Linked DNA regions of Homo sapiens: region 1 is linked to region 2. The links are contacts of gene promoters, found by promoter capture Hi-C in blood cells and fetal thymus (Javierre and others, 2016). All regions are on one chromosome and are shown on one strand. The core of a region is centred on a gene start or on the middle of the fragment in contact, and the rest is flanking DNA. Distances in the headings are between cores, read along the strand shown. Region 1 overlaps MIATNB (MIAT neighbor). Region 2 holds the start of PITPNB (phosphatidylinositol transfer protein beta).

Region 1 (6,580 bases), core at 861-3,360, 1.2 Mb after region 2:
AAAACCCTCCAATGGCTTCCAAATATACTTAGAGTCAAATCAGATTCCTTATTGTGGCTCAGCAGGCCCTGAGTTATCCAACCCTGGCTTGCCCCTTCAACATTACATCCCACCAGCCTCTTATGCTCTGGCCTTACCTCTGTCCCTTCAGCATGGCAAGCTTTATCCCCACCTCAGTACCTTTGCCCCTGCTGTTCCCCCTGCTGACACTTTCTCCTAATGTCGCATGGCTGACTCCATCTTAACAGCTCAAATGCCACCTCCTCTGAGAGGCCCTCTCTGACCACCGCCTGATCTTGCCCATCCTCCACTCCACCCGGGCCATCCTGTCCCACTGTCCTGCCGTACTTCTTTTCATAGCAATAAACAGTGGTAGAAAGGATTTAACTTTCTTGTTTCTATACTGAATGCCTGTCTCCCCCACTGGACTGAGAATTCCATGAGGACAGACATTTAGTTTCTTCTCACCACTCTATTCTAGGTGCCTAGCACAGAGCCTGGCACATGGACAGTGTCAATGCATATCTGATCTACTACTGAATCCAAATCTAAAGTCTAGATGGGGAAAAAAAAATAAACAGGACCTGCTTGCCCAGAGACCAAAGCAGTGAGTGAACTCGCTCAGGCTTAGTCAAGGAGGGTGTTATGCATAGACAAGATGTAGTGACCGGAGGGGTCTTATCCTGGGCTCATGTGGGGAAAAAAGGGAACAGTCCAGGCAAAAACAAATGAAGGGCTCAGAGACACAGCACTGGAGGTGAAGGAAACTGAACACTGATGATTTTTCTTATTCCGTACATCATTCATATATCAAGATTCCCGTTTTCCTTATGAAACTGTGAGGCTGGTGAGAAAGCTGCCACAGCTGTCCAAAACAGAAGGCTGGTGGTTTGGACTGGGGCAATGTCAGGGGGATAGAATAAAGTGAGAAGAGATATTTAGGGCCGAATGTGGTGGCTCATGCCTATAATCCCAGCACTTTGGGAGGCAGAGGCGGGCATATCACTTGAGGTCAGGAGTTCGAGACAAGCCCAGCCAACATGGTGAAACCCTGTCTCTACTAAAAACACAAAAATTAGCCAGGCGTAGTGGCGGGAGGCAGGAGAATCGGTTGAACCCAGGGGGCGGAGATTGCAGTGAGCCGAGATGGTGCCACTGCACTCCAGCCTGGGCGACAGAGTGAAACTCTGTCTCAAAAGAAAAAAAAAAGAAGGCCAGGCGCGGTGGCTCACGCCTGTAATCCCAGCACTTTGGGAGGCTGAGGCAGGCGGATCATGAGGTCAGGAGATCGAGACCATCCTGGCTAACACGGTGAAACCCCGTCTCTTCTAAAAATACAAAAAATTAGCTGGGCGTGGTGCCGGGTACCTGTAGTCCCAGCTACTCGGGAGGCTGAGGCAGGAGAATGGCATGAACCCGGGAGGCAGAGCTTGCAGCGAGCCGAGATAGAGATAGCGCCACTGCAGTCAGGCCTGGGCGAAAGAGCAAGACTCCTTCTTAAAAAAAAAAGAAAAGAAAAAAGAGAGAGATTTAGGCGGTAAGATGACAGGACTTCGACAATGGCTGTGACAGAGATTGAGGAAGGAAAGAAAAATGACTGTCAGGTTTCTTTTTCAAGCAACCGGAGAGACTGGGGCTCTTTCCTGAGATGGAAAATGCTGGAAGGGACTAGGATTTGGGGAAAAAAGATCCTGAGATCAGCTGAGACAGAAACAAAGTTGTTTCTTAAAAGGAACTGTATCCTTGTTTATTGCTGCATAATGAACCTCTCCAAGACCTAGAGGCTTAAAACTACCATCATTTTGCTCAGTAACCTGCAATTGGAGCATGGCTTGGTGTGGACAGTTTGTCTCTGCTCCATGCAGTATCCACTGCAGTGACTCAATTAGAGCTGGATGACCCACCTTCAAAATGGTTCATCCATAGGATTGCCAGGAGCTCAGCCAAGGCTGTGGGTGAGAGCCTTGGTTCCTCTCCACGTGAGCCTCTTGAAGCTGCTTGGGCTTCCTCACACCATGGTGGCTGGGTTCCAAGAGTGAGTATTGCCCTCCCGCGTTTTATGAACTAGCTTTGGAAGTCACATGGCATCACTTCCACCAAAGTCACAAACCACCCAGAGTCAAGGGGAGAAGGGTCAAAGTCACATTATAAGAGGCGCACGTGGGATGGGAGATATTGTTACAGCCATTTTTGTAACAATAATAATTTCTGTTTATGGCACCAGGAACATGGGGGCCTTTCACCCTTGTGACCATCCTAGAAAGAAGATCCTAGTGTTACCCCCATTTTATAAATGGGGATACAGAGGCTCAGAGAGCTGACGTGACTTGTCCAAGGTGACACAGTATGGGAATCCAGACTTGACACTGGACCTGTCCCACCTCCAGTTGGCTCAGACAAGAGCCAGCTTCATTTTTCTCTGTACTTCAGTGCCCAGTACAGGGTCTGGCCCCAGATCCAGGGGTGCAGGTGCTGGGCGAGAGGCTGAAATCAAAGACCGTGAGAGTCCACGGGGCCTCCGTCATTCCAGCCTGAGAACCTGGGAAAGCGTAAAGGCGGTTGAGGCCTGACCCCACTGCCAGAAGGTGATGTCTGGTATGAGCTCCCCGGTGGCCTGGCGTCCCTGAGATGGCTGGGAAAATGCCCCCTCAGCCCTGTGCCTCCAAGATGTTCTCTTTCCTGGGGCCTGGGCTGGAGGCTCTGGCACATTCCTTACATTCCAGAGCTTTCCTCTGGGAGGAAGCCTCCTTCACACAGGAGAGGCCTCTTGAGTGAAGATTAGGAAATCGCTAGTGTTTCAGGCTGAACAGCACCAGCTCCCCACAGCGGTCTCTGTCCCCCTGGCTACATGGCTACGCCGCTGTTGTGGGTGCTTTGCAGGGGAGGATCTGTTTATAGGCCATGGGCCAGGCAAGAGATGACTGTAGGGACTGGGCCGCCATGACTGTGGCTTCTTGAGTGCTCACCACAGGCAGGCTCAGAGGATAAAGAGGCCAGAGCTGCCGGCCAGCTTGCTCCATGACTTGGTCCTGTTGCTCCCCGGTCTAATCCTCAGGCCACTCTGTCTTCCCCCAACCCTGTTGGCCTGCCATACCTGCCCAAGGCCAAGAGAAACCATCAACACATGAAACAGGAATTGAGAGCCCATCACATGCAGACACGTTGCATATGCTCTCTTGCCAAATCCGGGTAGCTTCATTGAAAGGGACACAGTTGGGCCGGGCGCGATGGCTCATGCCTGTAATCCCAGCACTTTGGGAGGCCAAGGTGGGCGGATCACCTCAGATTGGTATTTCGAAACCAGCCTCACCAACATGGAGAAACCCCATCTCTACTAAAAATACAAAATTAGACGGGCATGGTGGCACACACCTGTAATCCCAGCTACTCGGGAGGCTGAGGCAGGAGAATCACTTGAACCCAGGAGGTGCAGGTTGCGGTGAGCTGAGATCGCACCATTGCACTCCAGCCTGGACAACAGAGTGAAACTCCGTCTCAAAAAAAAAAAAAGAAAAGAAAAAGAAAAAGAAAGGAACACAGTTATTCCCATTTTACAGATGGAGAAACTGAGGCTCAAACAGGGGAAGTCATCAGCCCTAAGTCACATAACCAGTAAGGGGTGGATCTGGCTACTCCCTAATTTGCCTGGACACCACCCACTAGAAAAGCCCAACTGACTCTTGTTTCATTCATTCAGTAAAATGTTGTTGACTCCCAACTCTGTGCCAAGTGCAGTACTGGGTACCCAGGGTACAGCTGTGAAGCAGGCTGCATTGCCCCTGCCCTTGTGGTGCTCACAGTCAGGGGAGCAGTCAATGAGCCAATAAATATGAAATCACAAACTGTGCTCAGATCCCCGAGGGCAATGAACACCCTGCAGGGAGAAGGAGTGACAGGAGAGAAACCAGCATAGAAAGAGTAACTGGGTTCGATCCCACAAGACGGAGTCAGCATTTTGGGGTGATGCGGCCCCATGGGTGTGGTGACCACCTTGAATCCAGGTTTCTCCATCCTCCAACCATGTGTCTTTGGGTGAGTTTCTTCACCTCTCTAAGCTTCAGTGCCTCCTCCTATAAAATGGGGGTGGTAATGAAACTCGTAAACTATTTCTGAGCACTTCATACATCAATGTGTCCAAACCATTCAGCACAGAGCCTGCATGGAGCAAACACTCGGAAAACAGTACCGGCCACTTTAACTCAATCCAGGTGAATGAAGGTGTGTTTGGAGGTGGAGAGAGAAGGAACAGTTTTGCCTGCAGGAAGAGCTCACAGCATCAGCGAGTTCTTGGAATAGTCTAGGCCTCAGAGGTCGATGGTTGGGGGATCCTGCATTGCTGAAAACACCAGTGTTATCAAAATAGTGAACCCTGCTGAGAGTGGCAGGATGGAATGGAAGCCAAAGGCGTACTTTGCCCATTTGGTGGAGGAGTAAGCTGAGGCTTAGAGAGGGGAAGTCACTTGGCTTGGCCTCTGTTAGGAAAAGGAGCCCTCGGCTGGGCAAGGTGGCTCACTCCCAGCACTTTGGGAGGCCGAGGCGGGTGGATCACAAGGTCAGGAGTTCAAGACCAGCCTGACCAAGATGGTGAAACCCCGACTCTACTAAAAATACAGAAATTAGCCAGGTGCAGTGGCAGGCGCCTGTAACCCCTGCTACTAGGGAGGCTGAGGCAAGAGAATCGCTTGAACCTGGGAGGCAGAGGTTGCAGTAAGCCGAGATCGCGTCACTGCACTCCAGCCTGGCGATAGAGTGAGACTCCATAAAAAAAAAAAGGAAAAAAAAGAAAAGAAGGAAGGAAGGAAGGGAGGAAGGGAGGGAAGGAGGGAGGAAGGGAAGGAGGGAGGGAGGGAAGGAGGGAGGGAGAGAGAGAGAGAAAAGAAAAGGAGCCCTCCGCAAAAATGAAGAGTGGTTTTCCAGAGTTTCTGTCCTCAGCTGCATTCTCTCCAGTCCCTATCCTTGTCCCACCCATGCCAAGTCCTACTCAATGCCCTAAAACTCTGTGATTTCCAGAGTATCCCGTAGAGCATCCAGCCCCAAATGCCCCTGAGAGGAACTGAGTTTCCAATAATAAGCAGTGAGGGTTTGGTGCAACACCACCATCTCCTGGTCGCTCCTGTGAACTACAGCTCTGGCTGGGCCACAGAGCACCTACAAAGCGGACTGGACTCCCAGGAGCTACACGACACTGACATGCAACAGACTAAATGCAGAGGCAGATATCAGAATGCAACACAATCTGTCTTCTATTAGGCCAGACATTAAAGAGATTTACCCTAAGAAAGTAAAATAATGCTGTCTTCTCACTAAATTTATTTTGCTTTGGAAAATACGGTTATTCATAATAAAGCATGTGTTATTTTTGTTAATATGCGATGGGTTTATTATTGTTATTGTGATTTTTCCATGAATAAACAAGTCTTTTTAAAACGTCTCTGTTTTAATTTACAACATGGCAGAGTCTCTACAATGGTTTCCTTCTGTCCCTGTCCCCCATCCAAATCTAGTTTCCATTCACTGCCTCTCCTGGGCTTTGCACTCTGCAGGGGTGATGCCTGTCTGCTGTGCCCTGGGCACCCAGCATTGTATTTGACACACAGTAGGACTCAACAACATTTTGCTGAATGAATGAAACAGGGGCCAGTTGAGCCTTGTGAGTGGCCAGCATCCACAATGCCTTTGAAAAAACACCTGCAACTGGGCCTGGCTGCCCAGAACACTTTTCTGAGAAAAAGGCTGAAAATGCACCCAAGTTCCCAAAGATAGGCAGGCAATCAGCTAGCACTGTGCGTCATATGGCAAGAGTGTAAAGAGCCTGAAGCCAAAATGTTTGAGAACTGCAGTGATAGAGTACTGTGGACAGGGTGGTCAGGGGAGGCTTCTCTGAACAAGTGATGTTCAGCTGAGCGCCAACAAGAAGTCAGCCACGTGAAAACCAGAGGGACATACATTCTAAGTGACGGGAAAAGCCAGTGCAAAAGTAGGTACCCAGGCGAGAGCAAATAGGTGCACTGGTAACAGAAAGGCCAGCAACCTGGCATCCCAGAGGCTAGGGCAGTGCCCACTATAAAAGAAGGACTCAGTAAACAGCTGCTGGGTGAATAGAGGGAGGGAGAGGAGGAAGAGAAAGGAGGACTGGGAGGAAGCTCTCTTCTCATTAGGGGTCTTGTAGTCCTTTGAGGGCAGGGGGGCTCACAAGTTCTGCCAGCCGTGGGAGATTCCCAACTCTTCTTACCACGCCTTGAACACTGCTGCACAGACCAGCCTCCACTTCTTAGCTCAATCTGTAACCTCCTCTGAAGTGTCCACCCTGCCCCCACCCCAATATCCTATCAATATCCTCATCTCCTACCGAACCAGTCCAATGAATCTTGGAGAAGCCATCCTGAAATGCCCTGCACCATCACTATTTTCTCCTGATTTATTGACTATTCCCCATCCTTCAAGGTTCCCCTCAAGTTTTGATTCTCCCAGAAAGCCATCCCTTACTGCCCCCACCCTCACCCCACCTCCTCCTGACCTTCTTTCCAACAGAGCACCTCTGGCCCCCAATCTCATCATCTGGTGCTAACACAGAATGAGG
Region 2 (6,694 bases), core at 1-2,500:
ATTTTTTTGGAGGCAGCCCTAACTCCACAGATGTATTCCACTATCAGATACACCAGATGTTTATACAAAAATGTTTTCGTGATATTTTAATCGTCTTAATAGCCTTTCAACAGGTTCTCATGGTTCTTAGAAGACAAATTCTTTACTATGGCCTAGTAATCCAGTTGGTCCCAGCTCATTTCCCACCCTCACTTAGGATGTTCTGGCCACATCTGCCCTCTAGCTGATCCTTGAACACCCTAGGCTTACTCCATCCTCGGGTCATATTTCCCTCCAACTGGAATGCCCCTCTCACATCCTAACAGGCTAGGCTCAAACACCGCCTCCTAAGACAGCCCTTGTCTTGAGTCCTCTGCTTCTCCCAGTACTCCACTGTATTCATAGCATAGCACTTCCCCACCACCCCAAATTCTCCCTGCTTTCTTTCCAAGTGAGTTGTCTCCTCTAGACTGTGAGCTTCTTGAGAACAGGGACTGTGTCTGCTTCTAGATGCATCCCCACTGCCTAGAACCGTGTCTGACACAGAGCAAGCCAGCGACCTCCGGGCTGCGGCTTTGAGGCCCACGGCGCTTTCGGTGTAACTGCGCGAACCAACTCCTGAACAGCCCGCTTTCCTGGGTCTCGAGGCCAAGGGCCTCTTTTCTCCCAGAGGGCCTCCGTCGGGAGTGCTGGCCGCTCATCCTGCCGAGTCACAGGTGAGGTTTAGGATTCTCCGCCGCGGTGGACCTCCACGAGACCGCGAAGCAGGTGAACGTCCTCCCGCGGAACCTGAGCTGCCAAGGGCTGGGGAGGGGAACAGAAGCTGGCGTCGGCTGCCTCCAGAACCTGTCAGGAGTCTTTTATGTGGACTATGGAGGTGAGGTGTCGGTCAAGGAGGTGGGCCCTGACTCGGAGCAGTGAGAGAGAGCAGAAAACCAGTCACCGCAAAACGGCTTCCAAAGAACCAACTGGAAAACTCACCGGAAAGCGTAGGCTGCCCAGACGCCCCGAGGGACCAAAGCTGAAGGGAGGAGCCCTCGTAAGCAGACAAGAGTGCGCGCGTCGAGCTTGCGCAGCCGCAGTAGAAGCCGCACGCTCTTCGGCAGGCTGCGCAACCGCAGTGGAGGCCTCGTGTGCCCGGGGTGGGGCACGAAACTGGGCGGAGCTAGGCCCCCTCGCGCGCTGACGCGACTGGTCGCGGCGGAAGGGTGTAAGCACGCAGGCGCGATGGTGGCTCGGGGGGGCAGGGAGGCGGGGCCGCGCAGGCGCTGTGAGAGGCGGTAGCGGCGGCGGCGGCGGTGGTATCGGCGGCAGCTGTGAGGGGGTTCCGGGAAGATGGTGCTGATCAAGGAATTGTGAGTGGGTCTGTGGGCGCGAGCGAGGCCGTGGGACGGCAGTGATGGGAGATTTGTTGATGGAGAAGTGGTAGGATATTCCTAAATCGGAGTCAGCCCTGTGTCAGCCCCTCCCTGCGGGCGCCCCCTCCCTCCCCCGGCCCCTTCGAAGCCCCTCAGCGAGTGCGCCCCTCGGCCCTCCAGGCATTGCCGTGGTAACACGCCCTCTCCCTTCCCCGGGGCGAAGGCGGCTGGGTCCCGGCCCGAGCGCATGGCTCGGGAAGGCGCGGCCGGGAGTTTCCGCTGGGACCCGCCTTCTCCCCAACCCCCCACCCCCAGGCTGGGTCTGGGCCCACCCCCAGGCCCGCCGGTGGGAAGGAGCCGCAGTCCGAGGGTGGGAGAGACACGTTGGTTCTGACTGTGATTTGTCGTCCGGGGTGGAGTCCCCTGGTAACCAGCGGGAGATGGGCTTGCCGGTTGAAGGCAGCCCTCGTGTCAGGACTCGCGGTGGGACGCTGGCGCCTTGAAGTTCGTGGTGGAGCCGGGATTCCGGAAAGCCTCCGCTCTCCTGGGCAGCTCCGCTGACTTGACGGGAGAGCCTTTTCTCTTTTTGGTTTCCGCATGTTTTAAGATGAGGTGACATCCCGGGCCCCACCTACTTTCTTAGAAGTTAACACGTGCTCTGTCAAATGGAGGGATTTCGAGGTGCATCCGACTGGCCAAGTGATTTTGTTGAAAAGTCACGGCTTTTCCTACTGGCAAGGACTGTAAACATTACGGAAATCTGCTTGCCTCTGAATGTTCGTCTGTCACAGCTGGTTCGTGTCGTCAGCATCCTTTGGGCAGCTAGGGAGGTCGAGTATGGCCCATTCGTTGGTTTTCAAATTCTTCATTTTAAATTCTTAGAAATATTTTTGGCTTAATTTAGCTTTTTTCAGACACCTTATTTTTAGTGTTCTTAAACCTCCTTTAAAAAGTCACTGATGCACTTCTCTGAGACTTAATACCTCCCAAAGACTCCCTGTCTCACCCAGAATAAAAGTCAAAGCCTCTGCAACAGCTACAAGGCTTTACACTTTTTTTTCCTGCCCTGATCTCATTTACTACCTTTTCCTTGCCCATTCCATCTTCGCAAGCTTCCTTGCTGTTCCTCTGCTACTCTAGAATAAGTTCAGTTCAAGACCTTTCCACCTGCTTTTGTTCCCTTTGCTTGAAGTGTTCTTCCCTTGGCACACTAACTCACCTTCTTCCAGGTCTTTGCTCAGACGTCACCTTCTCAGGGAATCCCTTTCTGAAGACCTAATTGTAGTTCCCACTATTTGGGGTGGTATTTGTCTTCCCTGCTTTATCGGTCTCCATAGTACTTATCACCATCCAACATGCCAATACAATTTATTATTATTATTTTTCTCCTACTAGTTGTGTTCTCTTTTTACATGTAAGGGCCATGAGTTTGTTTTGCTCACTCTCATATCCCCAGTTTTTAGAATAGTCCCTCGCATGTAATAGGTGCTCAGTAAATATTTGTTAATGAATTGATGAAAAATGATAACTTTGGTCAGTGACAGGGATTTTGAGAAGAGACATTTTGCCTTTTTTTGGTAGAGTGAAAATTCTCAATTAAAGCTTATTTATAGTACTGAATATTGGGTTTATATAAAACTTTTCTTCCAAGTCGTTTATACAGTGTATCAAACAAGTGTTCATTACTCTGACTTCTAGATGATGTGGGTAGATGGGTGGCAGACACTAAAACAAATGGAGAAAATAAGAAGGAAATTGACTTGGACCAAGTTACACAGCAAGTGAGTTGCAGAACTGATTTTAAATAGATCCAGTCATTTTTCTTTCATTGGAGTATTTCCTCCCTCCAAAAGTGTTACAGACACACAGTATTCAGTAGATCCCTTTGACAGTATGTGAGTAGTATGAAGCTAACTCTTGGAAAGCAGTTCCTATTGGGAATTTGCGCACTGTGCTTTTTGCAAACATTTGCTTTCATTATGAAGATTTAAATGTACCCAGATAATGAATGTTGACACGTGCCCAAAGTCTAATTATTTTTCCCAAAGAGTTATAAATTAAGTTTCTTGATGTTAACTCTTCATGTGTATCTCCCCTAGATTTTTTTTCCTCCTAGACTTTTTGAAGGTAGAAGCTGTTTCTTAAGTAATGTCGGTATCTAGCACAGCATCTAGGCCTAACATGCTCTAAAGAATTCAGTGTTGTTCAATGAAAAATTGATACTTCTTACTCTCAAGTCAACTTTCTAAAATTCTTGTTGGTTAGGAGCAATGAATAGCTTATTCCTATGTGAAGATATTGGTAACTAAAATACTTTGGCAAATGTTTGTTGTCTTATAAAATTCTTTTTTATTTTTATGTTTTTTTTTTGAGGCGGAGTCTCTGTTGCCCAGGCTGGAGTGCAGTGGCATGATCTCTGCTCACTGCAACCTCCGCCTCCCAGGTTCAAGCGATTTTCCTGCCTCAGCCTCCCAAGTAGCTGGGACTACAGGCGCACGCCACCATGACCGGCTAAATTTTTTGTATTTTTAGTAGAGACAGGGTTTCACCCTGCTGGCCAGGCTGGTCTGGAACTCATGACCTCAGGTGATCCGCCCACTAAGTGCTGGGATTACAGGTGTGAGTCACCGCACCTGGCCCTCTATTTATTTTTTTATAAGAATTAAAATGTTAGAAATGACTTTCGAGGTGGGCTGTTTCCCTTCAAGTTATTATTTAAGCAGTAGATGAAGTTACCATTAATGTAAAGTCCTGGTTTTAAAGAACTAGTTACTGATTCCATTTGGAAATTATTTTTATGAGGATTTTCAGACATTTGAACATTTTCAACTGGCACTGAAAGTTGAATACTGCTTTTAGAATAACAACAGAAAATCAAAGCCTGTATGTTCCTTTTCCCTTTTACTTGTTAAGCAAATCTTGAAGAAGTTACTTGACTCATTGTTCTGAATGTCTTAATCAGTCACTTTAATTTTTTGAAAGAATTTCCTTGAAAGTGTTCTTAAATAAAAATAGGGATCTTCCTGTTAGTGAGTGTAAAATTACTCAGCAGTGATTCTTTGGTTTTGTGAAACTTAAGGGAAGACTAACTCTTCTTTCTCTATCCCTTCCTTCCATTCCCTCTGCAGTCCATCATCTTGGTTCAGGCCTTTGTGACAGTTCTTGCCTAGCCTCCCAAAAGATAGCTTTCCCCACTTCTCCTGCTTGTCAGTGTTTTCAACCACCTGCAGATGACTTCTTCAGGTCAGCAGTAGTTGTCACTTACCTCTTGGACCAACCTTTTGGGATTCCTTATTGCCTGATGAATTTAATGGATTTCTTACCATAGTATTCCAGGTCCTGATAATCTGCTCCCAACCTATAGCTTTCTAGTCTTCCTCTCCCTCATTTTATGCTCTGGGACAGTGAGCAAGTTAGTGTATACTGAGAAGAGAAATGATTCGGAATTTTTAGGTATAGAAGGACTTACAAAAAGTTTATTCTTGATGGAGAGTAGAAATTAGTGACCATTGTGGATTTGAGAGTGTTCATTGTTTTTGAATCACCGTTACCAGAAAGACAAAGAGTGGCGAGTAACTCAGTAGTCAAAGGGGAGGGAGTAACAGACTTGTGCATGTTGGAGATTGAGGTAATGTGAACATTCAGACATAGATGTTTGAGGAGAGTAGGGAGAAAGGAGTAGATGGAAAGTGTAGCTGGAATGCAAACTAGATATAATCTGGGTTTTATTACTCTCTTCATACTTACGAATAAGAAAGACTATTAAAAAAGAATGCCTAGGCCAAAAAGATTGTCACTAATACAAACAATAAGCTAAATGACTCTTACTGCAAGAAAAAAAGAAAAAGAAATTATAAGCTGAAAAGAAATTGGAATGAGGAAAACTATTGAAAATTTTCCATAAAATGACAGATAAGATTAGGAAAGTATGAGAAGGATCGTATACCCCCATCCCACAAAAAAGGAAGTTGCTGTCTTGGAACCAACTATAATTATGAGACCATTGATATACAGGGATGTTCTTGGTTTTCAGGATTTATGGTGGAAATAAATTAAGGACTCTCCTTATAAAATCTAGAGATAAGATGCAATATTTTGATAAAACAATATACCATGATACTGTTTTGGATTTTATCTTTTAAGACTGCTTGCAATGGAGCTATAATGACATCTTTTTGGTATATACAATAAGAAACTCTTGGACAGGATGAAACACATGTCAACCTTATATTGTATATATGCTGGAAGGGATTATTATAAGGTTCAAGTAGTTTCCATAGTAAAATTTTTCTTACTAATTCTACACGACTCCTTATTTTTCTCTTAGTAAACTTGAGGAATAATTGAATAGTGGGGGAACAGTTTCTGGAAGCGTTTATTCAATGAGATTCAAGACACGTATTCTGTAAGAAGCATCATAAAAACAAAATGCACAGTATATAGGTGGAGAATGAAACCATACTAAAAATTTAGTCAGGGCAACCTGACCAGACAATCTGCAAATAATACGTTCTGTACCCTGCAATTTTCAATGTTGAGTTTTCTCTTTTTTCTTTACTCACAAGAATCTCTGCAGCTGCTGTTTGGGGTCCTGGGAACACTAAATGCAAATGATCATTGAGACCCAGGAATGATAGTTTTAGTTCCCCAATTATGGTGTAGGCATTGCAAAGACCCTCTTCCATAAATGACACCCTTGTATTTTTTTGATTTAAGAGACCTGTCTCTGTTATCATTGGATTTAAGGTAAAACCTCTTCAGAGATCTGTGTTTAAAGCTATTTCATATGTAATATATATATTTTTTCTTTTGTCTTTTTAGCCGTGTGGTTTTGCCATGTTCTGTTCAGGAGGTGAGTTTTTCTTGCTTCTGCATCATTTTATTGGTATATGTACTGTACTTTGATATGTTACTCTAAACTCACATTTTCGTAGTATTGATTTACCTTTTCATTCCACCTTATGTGACAAAATTAATTATATGAATGATAATTGCAAAGAATTGCAAAATGAATTAAATGAATGATAATGAATTTCTTGCTACACTGCCTTGTTTTGGAAGAGTCTAAAGAATGTAGTTTAACCTCCTGTCTAGTGCAGGAATTCTTTCTCCAACATCCCAGAGAAATGAGGCTCCAGCCTCAACTTAAGTACTTTAAGGTTAAGTAGCTTGCTGCTTAGAGAAGCAGCCTACTTTACTGTTGGACATTTTAAACATTTGTGTTTGAACCAAAATCTGCTTTTCCTATAATGCTTGACTCTTGTTTACAGTTTATCCCATTTGAGCAATGGGAAATAAGCCTGTTCTGTCTTGTAGTGGTTAATCCTTCAGGTTTTCTGATGGCAGCTCTCCCCTCC

The links. The method cuts DNA at HindIII sites, captures the fragments that hold promoters and counts their contacts. A CHiCAGO score of 5 or more calls a contact.
Region 1: a contact is called between a fragment that was not itself captured here and the fragment with the promoter of PITPNB in region 2, in 2 of 17 cell types (naive CD8 T cells and non-activated CD4 T cells). The highest score is 5.7, in naive CD8 T cells.

Annotation. Positions count from the first base shown.
Region 1 is chr22:26,677,730-26,684,309 of GRCh38, reverse strand. All of the region lies in intron 1 of MIATNB (MIAT neighbor), which reads right to left. Among named protein-coding and RNA genes, the nearest start is that of MIATNB, 8.2 kb to the right of the region's middle. RefSeq lists enhancers at 1,918-2,741, 2,742-3,566. The HindIII fragment of the contact is 3,895 bases long and covers 163-4,057 here.
Region 2 is chr22:27,913,812-27,920,505 of GRCh38, reverse strand. It overlaps PITPNB (phosphatidylinositol transfer protein beta), which reads left to right and starts at 1,250. Exons shown (of 12, transcript NM_012399.5): 1 at 1,250-1,334; 2 at 6,159-6,189. The coding sequence starts at 1,315. It overlaps TTC28-AS1 (TTC28 antisense RNA 1), which reads right to left and starts at 1,130. Exons shown (of 5, transcript NR_026963.1): 1 at 961-1,130. RefSeq lists enhancers at 730-909, 80-1,064, 1,065-2,050 and silencers at 1,220-1,289, 1,480-1,799. The HindIII fragment of the contact is 2,643 bases long and covers 1-2,451 here.